Regions from separate parts of the Homo sapiens genome. Here all the other regions are linked to region 1. The links are contacts of gene promoters, found by promoter capture Hi-C in blood cells and fetal thymus (Javierre and others, 2016). All regions are on one chromosome and are shown on one strand. The core of a region is centred on a gene start or on the middle of the fragment in contact, and the rest is flanking DNA. Distances in the headings are between cores, read along the strand shown.

Region 1 (4,366 bases), core at 1,065-3,564:
ATTCATTAATGCAGCCAACATTCACTGAGTACCTACTACTTGAAAATATTTTACTTTATCTTTGTATTTATTTGTTCATTCAGCCACTTATGTATTTGACAAACATCCACTGAACACCTTCTATCTTCAAATATACCCAGTGTTAGAAAAAGTGAAATATATAAGCTTACCCAGCATTTCCTTTTATGTGATTAAGTCAAAAATATTTATTGAGCCCCTCATATGTATATATACATATATATAACAATTAAAATATAGTTTCTGCTCTCAAGAAGCTTACAGTTGTATACAACATTATTAGAAAGTTAAAGAGAACTCATTTATTTATTCGACCAATTTTTATTGAGAGCCTAAAGATTCAGTTCCTGTTCAAGGTGCTAGAGATGTAGCAATGAAGAAAACAAAGCTACTGTTGTGGTGAAGGCTACAATCTGATAGAGAAGGCAGATGTTAAAAAAATAAATAACATAAATTCAGGAGGTAATTAATGCAATGAAGAAAAATAAAACAGGTTAAATGGATAGGCACTGACAGACAGGGGATATAGAATGATCAGGGAAGACTTCACTGAAGGGAACTCTATAAAGAGCACTGCAGGCAAAAGTAACAGCAAGTGCAAAGATGCTGAGGAGAGAGCATCCTTATCAAGCTGATGGATGTGGCTGATGCAGAATAAGCCAGGAGAGAATGCCAGAGAACTAGCCATGGTCAGATTATGTAGTGTCTTTTGGGCCATACCTAGGACTTCAGATTTTTTATTGTAGCCCCCCACTGTAATGTGAGCCAATTCCTTAAAAGTTCTCTTTCTCTTTGTATACAAACATATGTATATGTATATATGCCTATAGACATCTGTATCTCTCTCTGTGTAGATGTATATATGTCTATAGGCAGACACACACACATATATGTGTATACAAACAGATTTATACATAGAGAGAACTTTACATATATAAATGTATGTGTGTATATGTATGTGTGTATATGCCTATAGATATCTTTATATCCAGGAAGAGACATATATATATAGACACATGTAGATGTATATAACTGTATTGATTTATCTATCTGTATACCTACACACACACATATACACACACACACACACGTATATATGTTCATGTCTTTGGGTGTGGGATATCAGAAGCTCAGTTTGGACTATGTATGTGATATGAAAGTAGTATATACAGCAATTCTCCATTAGCTGGTAGTAGACTAGAAATATATTATCTATTGCCCAGTAGAATTTCCATTAGGATCCTTGCATTTTTCGTTTTCTTATAATCTAATTTTCTGCTTTTTATTTTTAAAAAGATAGTAGCTGCATCAAAGTAGTTTGTTTTGGTTTTTGTTTTTTGTGTCAAGGTTGACTATGGCGGATCATTCAGCAGATGTAAGTACGTGTTCACTTGAATTAAACAGCATTGTAAACAACTTCAAATTACTAAGTAAAGGTATTTATTTGAAACATAGAAATACTAAAAAAAATTAATGTCATGGGGAAAAATGCTGGTTTATTACAGAATATCAATATAACTGATGTAATGAATTTAAAACATTAAGCCAAATGACGTTGATTTATATTGCATTGCAGGTAAAATAGACAATCAAATGTACTCTGTCCATCCCAGTCTCAGTGTATCAATTAAAGCAACTCTTGGAGTCTACCAGTCACCATACAGTGGCTCTGTTCCAAACTATCAAAAAGGGAAGATTTTGTCAAGAGGAACTACTTGGCTACATTTTCCAAGCATCTATTGTTATCTATCTAAGCATTCGGTCTCTTCAGACGAAAAAACAGAAGGAAATTATTAAATGTTTGACAAGTTGATAATTTAGGATCACTGTATGTCACTGTATAAGAATTGCCTATTCTTACTCTATTCCCAATCTCTGAGGGAAGTGGCAATATGATTCTAGATTATTTAGAACAATAAAAATCTATACACGGAAGCTGCGTCTAAGAAACGAATATATAGTGCTTTGCACTCGACTGGCCCATTGTCAGCATCCCGCACTTGTTCTTTACCTAACTTGTGTGGCTTGCATATTGCAATCTGTATTACAATCCAGACGCGCTCTGCAGATTACAGATTGGATCCACAGAAAGCAGTTTGGATGGTTGAAATTCCCTCCACCAGAGGGCGACTCAGAGCTTTCCCCTGTAGCTCAGAGCTTTGTGGAAGGGGAACCCTGCTGCCTGTTCTTCCCCACAGCGACACTGACAAGTTGATCCAGCCGCGCTGGGCTCGAGCCTGTGCGGCAGGATGGAGCCAAGGGAGAGCGTGGTGCGGGGGCGTGGGGAAATCGGGTTGCCCCAGCCGTTACTGGTCCGCGCAGTCAGGGCATCCTCCGCATCCTCCACATCCTTCCATGGCTCTGAAGAATAAATTCAGTTGTTTATGGATCTTGGGTCTGTGTTTGGTAGCCACTACATCTTCCAAAATCCCATCCATCACTGACCCACACTTTATAGACAACTGCATAGAAGCCCACAACGAATGGCGTGGCAAAGTCAACCCTCCCGCGGCCGACATGAAATACATGGTGAGAAAGAACCAGGGCTGGGCTCTTAAATCCCTGACTCATCCTGAGGTATCTGGGTGATAAATTTCACGGACTTAACTTGTACTAATTCAATCCGGACTTTACATATATGCAGTTAAAAAGAAAAAAATTCACACCTTGGTTGGGCTGTCTCCTCCAGAGTCATAGGAGTGAACAAGAAAGGAAGACTTGAAGCTGTTCCTTGCCTCTTGCGGGGAAGGTGGGGATGCTGGAGCAGTGTTTGGAAGTTGCTTTGTTGCACCACTAAAGTTATAAGTACTGAACACAGGATTATTTTGTTTTCTTTCTTCCATTTTTTAGCTAGCAATTTCCACCCCCCACAACCAAGATACAAGATACCAAAGAAATAGCCCAGGAATGGAGATTCTCTTGTTCTCTTACTTATTTTTATATCATATGAATCCAAGATCAAAACAACACTTCATGTGTAGTATTATTTGAAAAAAATACAGTACTCTATTGAAGAATAAGCATAAAAAGCATTGGATTATTAAATAATCCATAGAATTTACAAAATTTTAAATACTTGACTATGAATTGTATGATTGGAAATTTCCCTTGCATTGTAACTTTTTCTTGTTTATAAATGCATCACTATGAGCATAAACGTTGATAGTATTAGTCTATTTTATGTGCTATGCAGATGTAGATACAGTATAACTCATATCTATTCCAGCTTTCTTCTTTTCTATCCAGTGGAAAACAAAAGTAATTATAAAATCACAACTCAGGCATTAAAATAAGTTCAAAACTGTACTAGTCTACTGTATAAGAAAATTATATTTTGATGGAGAAAGATTCAAATATGTATCAGAAATGAAACAAGAATAAACTAATCTCTTTAATGCAGAATTGTTAAGATATTTTAATATATAATGTTTACCAGCTTGGGGTTGTCCAAGGCATAAATTAACTAGAAATAAATCTTCAACGGAATTCAGAAATACTAATATTAGTATTAATATGGTTGATGCCTTTAGAGTTTTATTGTAAATGTATGATAAAAAAGAGTAAATGTGGGGTTAAATATAATAAATGTTCTTTATATTTCTTTTGTACTCATTGACTATTTAAAGCAAAATATGATAACAATGAATTGTGGAGTTTATAATAATGTAGAAACTAAACACATTATAACCAATGCATAAAAAATGAAGTGAAGTGTCAATAGAATTATTCTGCTGAAAGTTCCTTATATTGTTAAGAATCACAATAATATTTCTGGATGGACCGTGAGAAGTTAAGAATGCATATTTTAATATCTAGGATAACCATTAAAAATATACAAAGAAGTAGAGCTAAAAATCCAGTAAGTAGAATACTAAAGTCCTTGATTAATTTTTGGAAAACAGGAACAAGGAACAAAAGAACAAAGAGGGAATCATTTAAAAATAGCAAATGGTAGACTAAAACTTAACCATGTTAAAATTACATTAAATGCAAATGACTACTACATACTTTAATTAAAAATAAAGATTATCAGATTGGATTAATGCTTTTGTAACAGAAACATATCACAAATAGATTAAAGTAAAAAGATGGAAAAAATACATTATGCAAACTCTAAAATTAAGATAGAATAGCTATATTTATGGCTACTGAAGTAGATTTTAAGACAAGGAGAACTACCAGAAATAAAAGGGGACATTTAGGAAAATAAAAGGGCTAATTCAACAAAAGACACAGCAATCTTCAATACAAATAAATGTAATAATATATTTTAATACACAAAAATTGGCAAAAGTAAAGGGAGAAAGAGACAAAACAGTCATAGAGATTTTAATCTTAGTGAGTAAGA
Region 2 (4,366 bases), core at 738-3,237, 720 kb after region 1:
AACAACATAAAATAGCAATGCTAGAGAGGTGGAACACTTAACACAGCACTGAATGTGTGTCACAGCTCTGCCATTATTCATTGTGGGCAAGTCACTTAGAAGCCTCCATGTCTTCACTTGAAAATGGCAACAATCCTCAGCCTACCATGAAGTTAAAAAAAAAAAAAGAATATAATGAATCTACAAACTAAAAACTGTAAGCCAGGCGCAGTGGCTCACGCTTGTAATCCCAGCACTTTGGGAAGTGAGGTGGGTGGATCATTTAAGGTCAGGAGTTGGAGACCAGCCTGGCCAACATGGCGAAACCCCATCTTTACTAAAAGTACAAAAAATTAGTCAGGCATGGTGGCGCACGCCTGTTATCCAGTTACTGGGAGAAGGAGGCAGAAGAATTGCTTGAACCCAGGAGGTGGAGGTTGCAATAAGCCGAGACTGCACTCCAGCCTGGGCAACAGAGACTCAAAAAAACTATAAAAATAGGCTGGGCACAGTGGCTCAGTGGTTCAAGCCCATAATCCCAACAGTTTGGGAGGCTGAGGTGCGAAGATTGCTTGAAGCCAGGAGTCTAAGACCAGCCTAGGCAAGAAGACTCTGCCTCTACAAAAAAAAGTAGATTAAGCTGGGCATAGTAGCTTCAGATAGTCCTAGCAACTTGGGAGGCTGAGGTGGGAGAATAGCTTGGGCCCAGGAATGAGCTGCAGTGAGCCAAGATCATGCCAGTGTACTCCAGCCTGGGCAACACAGCAAGTCCCTGTCTCTTAAACAAAAAAACTATAAAATGTAAGGAAATAATGACTTTTTGAGTACAGATGGTGGTGCCAGGTTGAATAACAGTTCATCTGCATTATCATTCTTACAAAAAGGAAAAATATTTCCTAGGTATAAAAATACAACTGATGCTCTAGGGAGGCCCTGGCCGGGGAAACGAGTTGCATTTGTCGGCTCAGCTGGCAACAGTGGCGGGAGCAGAGCTGGCGGGGCCTGTGCAACTGCCTGGGTTTGTGAAATGGCTGCTGACGTTTCCGATTCCAATAGGGCTGACTGCAAAGGAGACCCAAGGAACAGAGCCAAGTTAGATGCTGATTACCTACTTTGAGTCCTTTATTGTGGAGTCTGTTCATTACCAATAGAGTACTGTGAATATATGCCTGATGTTGCTAAATGTAGACAATGATTAGAGAAGAATTTTCCAAATGAATATGCAAAACTTACTGTGGAAAATTCACCCAAACAAGAAGCTGGAATCTGTCAAGGTCAAGGAACAGCAGGGGAAGAAGAGGAGAAGAAAAAACAGAAGAGAGGTGGAAGGGGTCAAATAAAACAAAAAAACAAAGACGGTACCACAAAAGGTTACTATAGCCAAAATTCCCAGAGCAAAGAAATATGTGACAAGGGTTGTGGCCTTGTAACTTTTGAAATTGATCTTAAATCACACAAAGATTTTTTGCTCAAAAATTCTCCTGTGGTGCCTCAGTAACAGAGGAGGATGAAATTATCATTCAAGGAGACTTTACAGATGACATAATTGAGGTCATTCAGGAAAAACAGACAGAAGTAGATGATGACAGCATCGAAGATCTTGGAGAAGAAGTGAATTTGAAAATTTGTCTGTAGTTAATGGCCTGAACTGACAGTAGATATGGCCAAAGGGAGAGAGGCCTACATATATATATATATATATATATATATATATGTATTCTACAGTAAAACTGTAGACTGCCTTCGTTCTTGGCATTTTCCCTGTTCTGTACAAGGCTGCTTATTTTTTTATTGCCAAAGTCAAATAAACAGGAGAGACTGTCATGCTCATACATGAACAGAATTTAGTCAAATAAAAAATTTTGGTTATTTGGTACTTTTTTTTTTTTTTTTTGAGACGGAGTCTCACACTGTCGCCTGGGCTGGAGCGCAGTGGTGCGATCTCGGCTCACTGCAACCTCGACTTCCCGAGTTCAAGTGATTCTCCTGCCTGAGCCTCCCGAGTAGGTGGGATTAGAGGCACCCGCCTCCACACCCAGCTAATATTTTGTATTTTTAGTAGAGATGGGATTTCACCATGTTGGCCAGGCTGGTCTCGAACTCCTGACCTAGTGATTGGCCCACCTAGGCCTCCCAAAGTGCTGGGATTACAGGCATGAGCCACTGCGCCTGGCCTTTCTCTTTCTCTCTTTTTATTTTTTGAAAAACCCGGTAGACTTTGCGGTGACCATTTTTGTTGATTATTTTACTGATCTAAAGCTGAGTGATTTTTTAAAAGAATTTGAATTTGGCTTCCTCACCAATAATATGTCTCCTTGCTTCTCTGATGTGATAGTTTTGAGATGGGTGAGAATCTAATATATCTGTGGTTGAATTTGCTTTGCTGTTATCAAGTCCACCCTATGGGCACAATAACATACTGTTGGTAGGAGTTGTTGGAGCTATTCTGGAGATTATTTGGTAAAGTATACTAAAAGCCTTAAAACCACGTATGTGCACTGTTTGAACCAGTAAGCCACTTCTTTGAAATTAGAAGACATTAGAAGAAACAATAAGCCTTGCAATAAAACTTATGGATGAAAGTATTCATCACAATATGATTTATAATAAAAAATTGCAAATGTTATAAGTGAACAATTGGAAAATGGTTAAGGAAGTGATGGTGCACTGTGTGGTATGTTTATGTTTAAAGATGTGGTATGCATATGTTTAAAGAATCATATTTTCTAAGATTATTTGGAAACATGTTTGGTAATGTCAAGTGGGGGCACCCCAGATACATTTTAGACATTTAATCATCATCGTTCTGAGAGGAAGGCCATTCAGAGATGCTAGAGGTTCTTATTCTGGATATAAATTACATGAGTAAAATTCTACTAACCAATTAAAAATAATGTACAACCATGTTCAATATACAGTCCTGGAAATAGCAATTATGTCTTTTCACAAGAGAAAATGACAGTTTTAATGCTCCATCAGATGAATTCGAACTTTAAGTCAGGTGCTGCAAATTGGAAATAAGACTTGTGGTGTTTTAAACTGCTGTGGACACTTAAGAAACTTAGAACCCATGAAACCGCTGCTTATTGCCATGCAAATTACAATCTTGAATGACTGTTTTTTAAAAATAAAGTAATAGAAAAACGTGTAATAAAGACGTAAAATTAAAAAATGAAAAAATACAACTGGTTATATAATATTGTACTCCATCATTAAATGCTAACATTTCTGACAAGTCCTAAGATTTTATCATCTTAAAAACATACCAAAATAAAGTTGGTACTAACCGAAATCTCATCTTCTTCATCTGGTTTCCATTCACATTCTTCTTCCGTAGGTTCATAAATTGCATTAATAATTTCAAATCGCTAAAATGATTTAAAAAAAAAAGGCTGTATAAAAACACTGGCATCCAAGCTAAAACCAGTGGTTTCTCACTAAGAAGTCTTACAAATTTAACAAATGCATACCACAACTTTAACTGCTATTATTGATAGTTCCTCCAAGTGCTGCCTCTAATAACAATTTCAATGAGAGTTCTAAAGATTAACCTCTTCCAAGTCTGCTTATGTTTCTAGAATTCGTCTTCTAGAATGTTAAATTAAACAAAGTAGGAGAAAGCATTACCTTATCAAATAGAGGCTGATAGAGAACAGCATACTTCCTTTCAAGATCGTGAACTTCCTCATAGAATTTGGCTTCTATCTGTGCACATTTAACTTGCAGGTTTTTGAGAGCATTCACTCGTCTTTTAACTACCCTAGGCAGGCTGAAAGGTTAGAAATCAGTTATATAGCATCAGAGTAAAATGGAAGTCACACTTCTTTTGTCATACTGAAACTGAAGCATTGGAGTTAGTGAATGACAGGTTTTTTATCTGAAGCAAAAGGTAGATTCAAAGTAAATAAAAATCAAATAGATATAAATACATTGATCCACTGGCTATATTTCAAAAGTAGAAATGTAACTGGGTAAATTGATAAACAAAATGTAAATCATATTGTCAACCCTAAATCTTTACCCAAGTTAAGTGTTGGACTTGTCATTGCTGAAGTCATGGACAGACCATCTTAATTCTGAGAACAATGATTACTTGGATTTTTCTTTTACATATATCTCACCCATACAAGTTATTAGGAAAAAGGAGGGGAGCATAGACATATCAGGAAAAAGGACAAGATTCCACACACCATTATTTTTTTAGTCTCCATATTTAATTAGGAATTAGTAATTACATTATTAAATACAAGTGTAACATACTATAAAGAGGAGACATGTATTTTTAAAATAACAGCTTTAGGGCCAGGTGCTATGGCTCACAACTGTAGTCCCAGCACCTTGGGAAGCCGAGGCAGGTGGATTCCTTTAGCCCAAAAACTCAAGACCA
Region 3 (4,366 bases), core at 1,141-3,640, 680 kb after region 1:
CTCCATCTCAAAAAAAAAAACAAAAAACAAAACAAAACAAAAAAAAACAAAGAAAGAAAAAGAAATTAATAGAGCAGGGTGAGGGTGTCTTATGTCTGTAATCCCAGCACTTTGGATAGCCGAAGGAAGATGATTGCTTGAGCCCAAGAGTTTGAGAATAGCCTAGGTAACATAGACCCCATCTCTACAAAACATTTAAACAATTAGCTGGGCATGTTAGTACATGCCTGTTGTGCCAGCTACTAGGGAGGCTGAGGCAGGAGAATCATTTGAGCCCAGGAAGTCAAGGTTGCAGTGAGCCATGTTCGTGCCACTGTACCCCAGTAAGAACCTGAAGAAGAAAGAAAGAAAGAAAGAAAGAAAGAAAGAGAGAGAGAGAGAGAGAGAGAGAGAGAGAGAAAGAAAGAAAGAGAAAGGAAGAAAGAAAGAAAGAGAGAGAGAGAGAGAGAAAGAAAGAGACAGGAAGAAAGAAAGAAAGAAAGAAAGAAAGAAAGAAAGAAAGAAAGAAAGAAAGAAAGAAAGAAAGAAAGAAAGAAAGAAAAGGGAAGGGAAGGAGGAAGGAAGGAAGGAAAGAAGGAAGGAAGGAAAGAAGGAAGGAAGGAAAGAAGGAAGGAAGGGTCATGAAATGGGGATGCTCTTTAGCAGACAGTGGAGACAAGCACTTTCTAGATGTTTTGTCTGAATGGAGACAAAGTTCTCTCACATCTCATTATTTTAATCGTCACACTAGCTCCATGAGACAGGATTTATTATACCTATTTTACAGGTAAGAAAACTAAGATTCAAAAATGTTAGGTGACTTGTGCAAAGTTACACAGCTTAAGAGAGTCAGCACTGAGTCATATCCAGGTCCTTCAAATTCAAAGTTGTAGTCTTTCCAAAGAAAGGCAAATGAGTACAGAAATCACTACTTGTAAACTATTACAACTGAAACAGGGCAATTGAAGAATATCTTTACTCTAAAGACAAAGAAACTAAAGTCCAGAGACGCAAAATCATGTGCTCAGGGTCACACAACTTGTTAACGGCAAAGCCAAGTCTAGAATCTAGGATTCTTTCTACTACTCTTTGTTGACCCTTGAGGAATCTCCCGGGATAGTGTAAAAGCATGCTCCTCTTGTTGAGCATGAATGAAAAGCCTGAGATTCTTCTCCTGTTTTCTTGATTTGGATCTTTTGATAGACTCTGTGATTGGTGCTGGACATGACGTCTCTAAGGGAGCTAGCTTCTGCAAAACCAGCAAGCACCACTGATGGTGTCTCTGGCTTTATTGCTCCAGTTTCCGCTAAGAACCTTCGATCTTTCTTATATCTTTACCATGTCAATATGACTCTGACAGGAAGGCACTGAAAGCAACTACGTATTTCTGTTTTGAAATTTAGTTTTGTTCTATTTAAATTGTTCAGATGTAACGAAGGACCAATTGAAAATCATTACAACAGTACCATATGAGAAAGGAAAGTGTAAACCTTAGTAAGAATTATAAGAATACCTAAAATAGCCGGGCGCGGTGGCTCACGCCTGTAATCCCAGCACTTGGGGAGGCCGAGGCGGGCGGATCACGAAGTCAGGAGATCGAGACCATCCTGGTTAACATGGTGAAACCCCTTCTCTACTAAAAATACAAAAAAAATTAGCTGGGTGTGGTGGTGGGCGCCTGTAGTCCCAGCTACTCGGGAGGCTGAGGCAGGAGAATGGCGTGAACCCGGGAGGCAGAGCTTGCAGTGAGCCGAGATCACGCCACTGCACTCCAGCCTGGGTGAGAGTGCAAGACTCCGTCTCAAAAAAAAAAAAAAAAAAAAAAGAATACCTAAAATACTCTAAATTAATGTCTTTAAGAGCATTCCCATCTCTGAGAGAGGTCTGCATCGTATTTTAGTGCTAGCACACAGCCACAGTTTGCATAGCGTTTAAGCGCAAAGGCAGTGGAGTTAAATACCCAGATAACAATTCTCATCCTGCTGTTTATTTGGCAAGTTTCTTCAGTTCCCCAATCCTCAATTTCTTATCTATTAAGTAGAGGCTAATAAGACCTATAATAGAGGCTGCTAGTTTCCTTTCCAATAACCATTCTCCCCTCCTTCTTTGCTGACAGAACCCTAATTTTATTTGGGATGGCAATTTGGCCAGTACATTTCTAGCCCTCCTTTGCAACCCTGGATAGCAAATGTGGTGTTAAGTGGAAGTCACCATATTGGGATTCCAAAATTTTTCTAGGCTGGATATGGTAGCTCAAACTTGTAATCCCAGCACTATGGGAGGCCAAGTTGAGAGAATCACTTAAGTCCAGGAGTTCGAGACAAGTCTGGGCAACATAGGGAGACCCTGTCTCTACAAATAATTTAAAAATTAGTTGAGTGTGGTGGTGCGTGCCTGTGATCCCAGCTTCTCAGGAGGCTGAGGCAGGGGGATCACCTGAGCCCAGGAGGTTGAGGCTGCAGTGAGCTGCTGTTTCCCTAATTTTCTTTCTTCCTGTTCTAGAGCTCGAATATGGTAGCTGGAACTCCAGCAGCCATCTTGAATCATGAGGCTAGAAGTCCTGTACCAAGGGTGGTAGAAGAGAAAAGAAAGAAGGAACCCGGATCTGTGACAAACTAAAGTCACCTTACCCACCCTGGGCCACCCACATCTAGGTTACTTTTACATAAAAGAGAAGTAAATCTTTATCTTAATACACTTATTTTGATTTATCTGTAACAACAGGGTGTTTTTTTTTTGAGACGGAGTTTCACTCTTGTTGCCCAGGCTAGAGTGCAATGGCGTGATCTTGGCTCACCGCAATCTCCGCCTCCTGGGTTCAAGCAATTCTCCTGTCTCAGCCTCCCGAGTAGCTGGGATTACAGGCGCCTGCCACCAAGCCCAGCTAATTTTTTGTATTTTTAGTAGAGAAGGGGTTTCACCATGTTGGCCAGGCTGGTCTTGAACTCCTCACCTCAGGTGATCCGCCCACCTTGGCATCCCAAAGTGCTGGGATTACAGGCATGAGCCACCGCTCCTGGCCTGCCCTGTGGTCCTATTTTACACAGTCATTTGGTTCAACTGAATATCATTTTTTAAAGCCACATTGAAATCAAAGTGTTTTCCCAGGCTCTTAGAGTGCCCGGGTCAAGAATGCTGACAATCTGCTGTCAGAGAGAGAGGCTGTCCGCGTTACCCCCTATCAGCCCTCCCAGTCATCACTTGCATAAGAACCAGCAGGCAATCCACTGCCTTGTGACAAGCACTGTGACTCCAGGAGGGAGCCAAGTGCTATGAATGAAACCCCGTAAAAGGTCACTTTATGTAAGAGGAAATGTTGGCATCACCCAGAGCACATACACAATTTTGAATTAAAAGCCGGATTGCTGGATGCAGAAGTACATCTACTTATTAAAGATCCTGCTCCTTTTTTCTCCCTATCCTTTCATGAAAAGTTATTACAAACTCTAAAATCTTCTCCAAGTTAAATCCTTAAGTAAAAGAAGCACACAAGAAAACATTGTGTGGTTTGAAGTTCTTAATATCCTAGGTAGGTCAAAAACTGTTATTTATGGTTTAATTTGGAGCTATGTGAATTGCATTCACCTAGTTGCCCAGAAGGGCAGCAACAAATTTTTATCACTCCACGTATTAGGATCTCACCAGTGCCCATAGATCCACTACCCTCAACCAACCTTTTCAGAAAATATTTCTCCCAACACCTACACAGGCTACAAATCTAGGCAGCTACCTCCTCAAGTAACTGTATAAACATTCAAATCACTTCAACATTTTTCAACTCCACAGGTAATTTCAAGACCTGAGGGTGACTAGCAACAGGAAACATTCCACAAATATTTTAGGAGTCATAAGATAAAATCAATTTCAAATGGCTTTTTTAAAAGAATATATTCTAACAACCACATTTTAAAATAAGTCCATTTCAAAATATACTTCTGGAGGAGAAGGAGAGAGAAGAGGGAAAAAAAAGAAAAAAGAAAATGTGTGTGTGTGTATATATATATGCGTGTGTGTGTGTGTGTGTGTGTGTGTGTGTATTTCTGCAGTATTTCTGCAGGTAGGAGAGAGATTATTGCCTAACATTTTATAAAAAGCAATATATATATTTATACATATATATATATATATTTGTACACACACACACAGACACACACACACACTCTGGTTTCTTTTGTGAATTTGCCTGTTTCCTGAAGTTTTGTTAATCCATGTGGATTATATTTGAAAAGGGTAAAACATGATTAACTTTTTTTTTTTTTTTTTTTGAGACAAGGTCTCACTCTGTTTTCCAGGCTGGAGTGCAGTGGTGCAATTAGAGCTCACTGTGTCCTCGAACTCCTGGACTCAAGTGGTCTTCCTGCCTCAGAGTCCCAGGTAGCTGGGACCA
Region 4 (4,366 bases), core at 675-3,174, 640 kb after region 1:
AGATTAAACAGGCCTTGATTTTTTTAACCACGCTTGGATAATTATCTTTAGAATTTGATTTTGCTCTTTTTACTTAGTCCAAAATGCATATATCATTAAATTCTTATGATTTGACCATACTTTACAACAGTGACATTTGCAATTACAGTTTTGAGTTCTTCTCTACCAACAATGGAGCAAGTTTTGGTACTATAACTCAGGAATAGCCTATTTGGTTGAGATAATTACGCTGCCTATTTAAAATAAATGAAGATGACTTGGGAATTAGGATCAGGAAGAAGGATTTAGTCTTTAGTTCAATTTAATCACCAAACATCATCTCTGTATATTTAAAAGAACAAGATATAAAAATACAATAATTTTCACTGAGTGTTTTTATCTCAAACATTGTTGATATTTTTAATCTGGATTTCCACTTAACTTCAAGTATCTATTAGGCAGCCTGCTCTGGCGAAGAGCTTTGCAATCAGGCAGACCTAGGTTCAAATCCTGGTCCTACCACTTCCTACATATGCAAACTCAGACACAGGGGTCACCCAGGACAGTACAGAGTTCTGGATCATACGAACTGGCAAAATTCTGATTTAGTAAGTCTTAAATGGGACCTGGTTCAATTTTGAAATACGTTTACACTTAAAGAAAAGTTGCACATGACAAGACCCCATCTGATATCATTTGGTTGGGTCCCCACCCAAATCTCATCTTGAATCATAGTTACCATAATCCCCATGCGTCATGGAAGGGACCAGGAGGAGATAATTGTATCATGGGGGGTGGGGGTTACCACATGATTCTTATGATAATGAGTTAGCTCTCATGATAGCTGATGGTTTTATAAGGGGTTTCCCCCTTTGCTGAGCACTCATTCTCTCTCCTGCCACCCTGTGAAGAGGTACCTTCTGCCATGATTGTAAATTTCCTGAGGCCTCCCCGACCATGTGGAATTGTGAGTCAATTAAACTTCTTTCCTTTATAAGTTACCCAGTCTCAGGTATGTCTTTATTAGCAGCATGAGAATCGACTAATACACCATCCCTACAAAAATTTTTAAAATTAGCTGAGCCTGGTGCTATGCACCTGTTCCAGCTACCCAGCTACCCAGGAGGCTGAAACAGAAGGATCACTTGAGCCCAGGAGTTTAAGGCTACAGTGAGTTATGTCACTTTACTCCAGCCTGGGTGACAGAGCAAGACCTTGTCTCAAAAACAAAACAAAACAAAAAAAAAAAGGAGGAAAGAAAGAAAAGAAAAATTTGTTGCAAAAACAGTACAGACAGTTTCCATATGTCCTTTACCTAGCTTCTTTTAATGTTAGCAACTTGCATAGCCATAACACAATTATCAAAGATAAGAAATTAACATTGACACAATGCTATACCTACATGGAGTGATACTTATTCAATTTTCACCAGTTTTTCCACCAAAATCTTTTTCTCTTACAGGATTCCACATTACATTTTGTCGTCATGTCCCCTTAGTCTCCGCCACACTATGACAGTTCCTTAGTCTTTCCTTGACTTTCATGACCTAGACACTTTTGAAGATGAGTGGTAAATATTTTATAGAATGTTGCTCAATTTGTGTTTGTCTGATGTTTTCTCAAGATGAGATTGATGTTTTACATTTTTAGCAAGAATGCCACCAAAGTGAAGTGCCCTTCTCAGTGTATCGTTTTGGGTTAGGAGATATCATTATATCTCACTACTGGTGAGGTTAACCTGGATCACTCAATTAAGGTGGTGTCTGCTGGAGTTTTCTGCTGTCAAGTTAGTATGTCTCCATTTGTGATTAATAATCTTGAGGGAGATACTCTGAGAGAGTAAATATTGTGTTTCTCCTCAAACTTCCACACACTGATGTCTGCAACAATTATTAATGGGGTATTCTAATGGTGAGTTTCTATTTCCTTCCTTCTACCTTTATTAGTTAGAATTTTCCAGGAAGAGTTCTGTAAGGAAAAGTTGTGCCTTCTCTTCATTTTTTCAATTACTTATCAATATCAGTATGGACTCGTGGATATTTATTTTATTCTGAGTTTTAATTCAATGCTATCATTATTTTGTTCTTCAAGATAATCTAATTTTTTAAGAGACAAGGTCTTGTTCTACCACCCAGGCTGGAGTACAGTGGCACCATTGTGACTCACTGCAGGCTTGAACTCCTGAACTCAAATGATCCTCCCGTCTCAGCCTCCTGAGTAGCTGGGACCACAGATGTGCACCCCTATGCTTGGCTAATATGGTTTTTTTTGGTAGAAATGGGTCTCACTTTGTTGTCTGGGCTGGTCTTGAACTCCTGGTTTCAAGTGATCCTCCCACCTTGGCCTCCCAGTGTTTGGATTACAGGCATGAGCCACTGCACCTGGCCTTGAATAATCTGACTTTTTAAAGCTAGTTAAGGAATCGTTGACTTAGTCTCTCTGTTTTCTCATCTGTAAAATGAAAACAATAACAACATTCCTCTTAAAGTGTTAGGGTGAAGATTAATAACATCATGTGTGTAAAGCCCTCAGCTCATCGCTTACTTACAGTAGACTTTCAATATATATTACTATATTGTCAAGAGAGGCATTATGTAAATATCTGTGTTAGATACAGACAGGAGCTGGCAGCATAGTGTAGTCTGGTCAATCATGGAATAGATCTTAGGAAAACAAATAACTCAGGAATTCCATTTTGGAGGAAGAAGAGCAGAACTAGCTCTGCTACTAACTAGCCACTAATGTTAGACAAATCACCTCTCCATCTGAAACTCAATTTCCTCATAGATAAACATTGGAGGGCCTTTCCAATTCTAACACTGTGTGATACTAACTATTTGAGATATATGGAAAAATTTGGTAACTTACGCAAAGTGAAAAAACAGATCAATGATGCTTCTACAATGACTTGGAGAAGAGACTAATATCCATGAAAACATAACCCAAGTTTTTGCTGCCATTGTAGAAACAGCAATGACAAGAGCAGGGAAAATGACACATGTGGTTTTATTCTTGTCAGGTTCCTGCTCCATCTCCTAGTAAAATCCACATTATTTCCCTACCATTGAGTCTTACATATGACTTTTTTTTTTTTAATTATTCCTATCAATGACAAACAAGCAACTTCTTTTTGTAGTACTTGCAATTACATAATTGTGTTTTTAAAATTCATGCAAAAAAATGAAAATTGTTTAAAATAAAACAAACTATGATGTTCGTCTGTATCGTTATGTATCACCAGGGTCTAAGACACTGCCTAGCATTTACTATGAGATCAAATTTTTTTTTTTTTTTTTTTTTTTTGAGACGGAGTCTCGCTCTGTCGCCCAGGCTGGAGTGCAGTGGTGCGATCTCTGCTCACTGCAATCTCTGCCTCCCGGGTTCACGCCATTCTCCTGCCTCAGCCTCCCAAGTAGCTGGCACTACAGGCACCCACCACCACGCCTGGCTAATTTTTTGTATTTTTAGTAGAGACAGGGTTTCACCGTGTTAGCCAGGATGGTCTCGATCTCCTGACCTCGTGATCCACCCGCCTCGGCCTCCCAAAGTACTGGGATTACAGGCATGAGCCACCGCACCCGGCCCAAAAAATATTTTTTGATTAAACAAATGAATCAAGAATGAACAAATGAATGGCCATAGATATTACAAAAGAGAGAAGTATATCATAAGAGGATAACAATAATATGATCACTGCAATGGAGTTGTGGAGTAGTGCCTGTGTTGGGGAGAAGATGAAAAATCGTTCCTCATGTCTCACAGATTAAAAGGGCAGAATCCTGGAGATGGTTGAAGTAGGAGCTGCTACCCACTACTCCCTCTCCAACTTCCCCCTCTGAAAAAATGCCCTTTAACACTGACACTCAACCTCACATGGTGAGCAAAAACTGCTGGCCCAAGGTCCTGGCCTCTGCCACAGGCTATGAGCCTCATTCAGGTTCCACATTTAGTGTGACACAGATGTTACTTCCTCCTAAAGTTAAGGACATGGACTTAAACAATTCATAAGCACCTCCAAAAATAACTTCCATGTGCTCTGTAAATACCACCTCCAGACATACTCCAAAATTAAATTCCTGCCTCATTTGTTTTCCCGACACCTGCTCCTCAACTGACCAAACTGTTTCCCGTAAGCATTTAACATGCTCTCTTCTGGGGAAACACTGGCTACAGGAACCACACTGGAGAGCTGCCTTACACAAAAGACCAACACAAAACAAAGTACTTGTGCTGCTTTAGTAACATTCCCTGGATAAGGTGCAAGAGGGGTGGGCATTTCACCAAATTGTACTCCACAGTGAATAGCATTATAGCACAAGGAATGTTTCCAGGGTAATCCCCTCCATGCTGTCTTTGTTTTCTAATTAGGCTTTCTTACAGTAAGCTT

Evidence for each region. Contacts are between HindIII fragments. The CHiCAGO score rates a contact against its expected background, and 5 or more counts as called.
Region 2: a contact is called between a fragment that was not itself captured here and the fragment with the promoter of GLIPR1L1 in region 1, in 2 of 17 cell types (neutrophils and total CD4 T cells). The highest score is 8.9, in neutrophils.
Region 3: a fragment that was not itself captured here is called in contact with the fragment with the promoter of GLIPR1L1 in region 1 in 1 of 17 cell types (neutrophils); the score reaches 7.2 in neutrophils.
Region 4: a fragment that was not itself captured here is called in contact with the fragment with the promoter of GLIPR1L1 in region 1 in 1 of 17 cell types (monocytes); the score reaches 5.7 in monocytes.

The regions. Positions count from the first base shown.
Region 1 is chr12:75,332,356-75,336,721 of GRCh38, forward strand. It overlaps GLIPR1L1 (GLIPR1 like 1), which reads left to right and starts at 2,315. Exons shown (of 6, transcript NM_001304964.2): 1 at 2,315-2,547. The coding sequence starts at 2,374. It also overlaps a transcript of CAPS2 not described here. RefSeq lists a silencer at 2,052-2,161. The HindIII fragment of the contact is 15,549 bases long and covers 274-4,366 here.
Region 2 is chr12:76,056,532-76,060,897 of GRCh38, forward strand. It overlaps NAP1L1 (nucleosome assembly protein 1 like 1), which reads right to left. Exons shown (of 15, transcript NM_004537.7): 5 at 3,607-3,748; 6 at 3,267-3,347. It also overlaps the pseudogene DENRP2. Among named protein-coding and RNA genes, the nearest start is that of NAP1L1, 26 kb to the right of the region's middle. The HindIII fragment of the contact is 7,125 bases long and covers 1-4,366 here.
Region 3 is chr12:76,015,139-76,019,504 of GRCh38, forward strand. No RefSeq gene overlaps it. Among named protein-coding and RNA genes, the nearest start is that of PHLDA1-AS1, 13 kb to the right of the region's middle. The HindIII fragment of the contact is 6,475 bases long and covers 1-4,366 here.
Region 4 is chr12:75,970,631-75,974,996 of GRCh38, forward strand. No RefSeq gene overlaps it. Among named protein-coding and RNA genes, the nearest start is that of PHLDA1-AS1, 58 kb to the right of the region's middle. The HindIII fragment of the contact is 4,874 bases long and covers 1-4,361 here.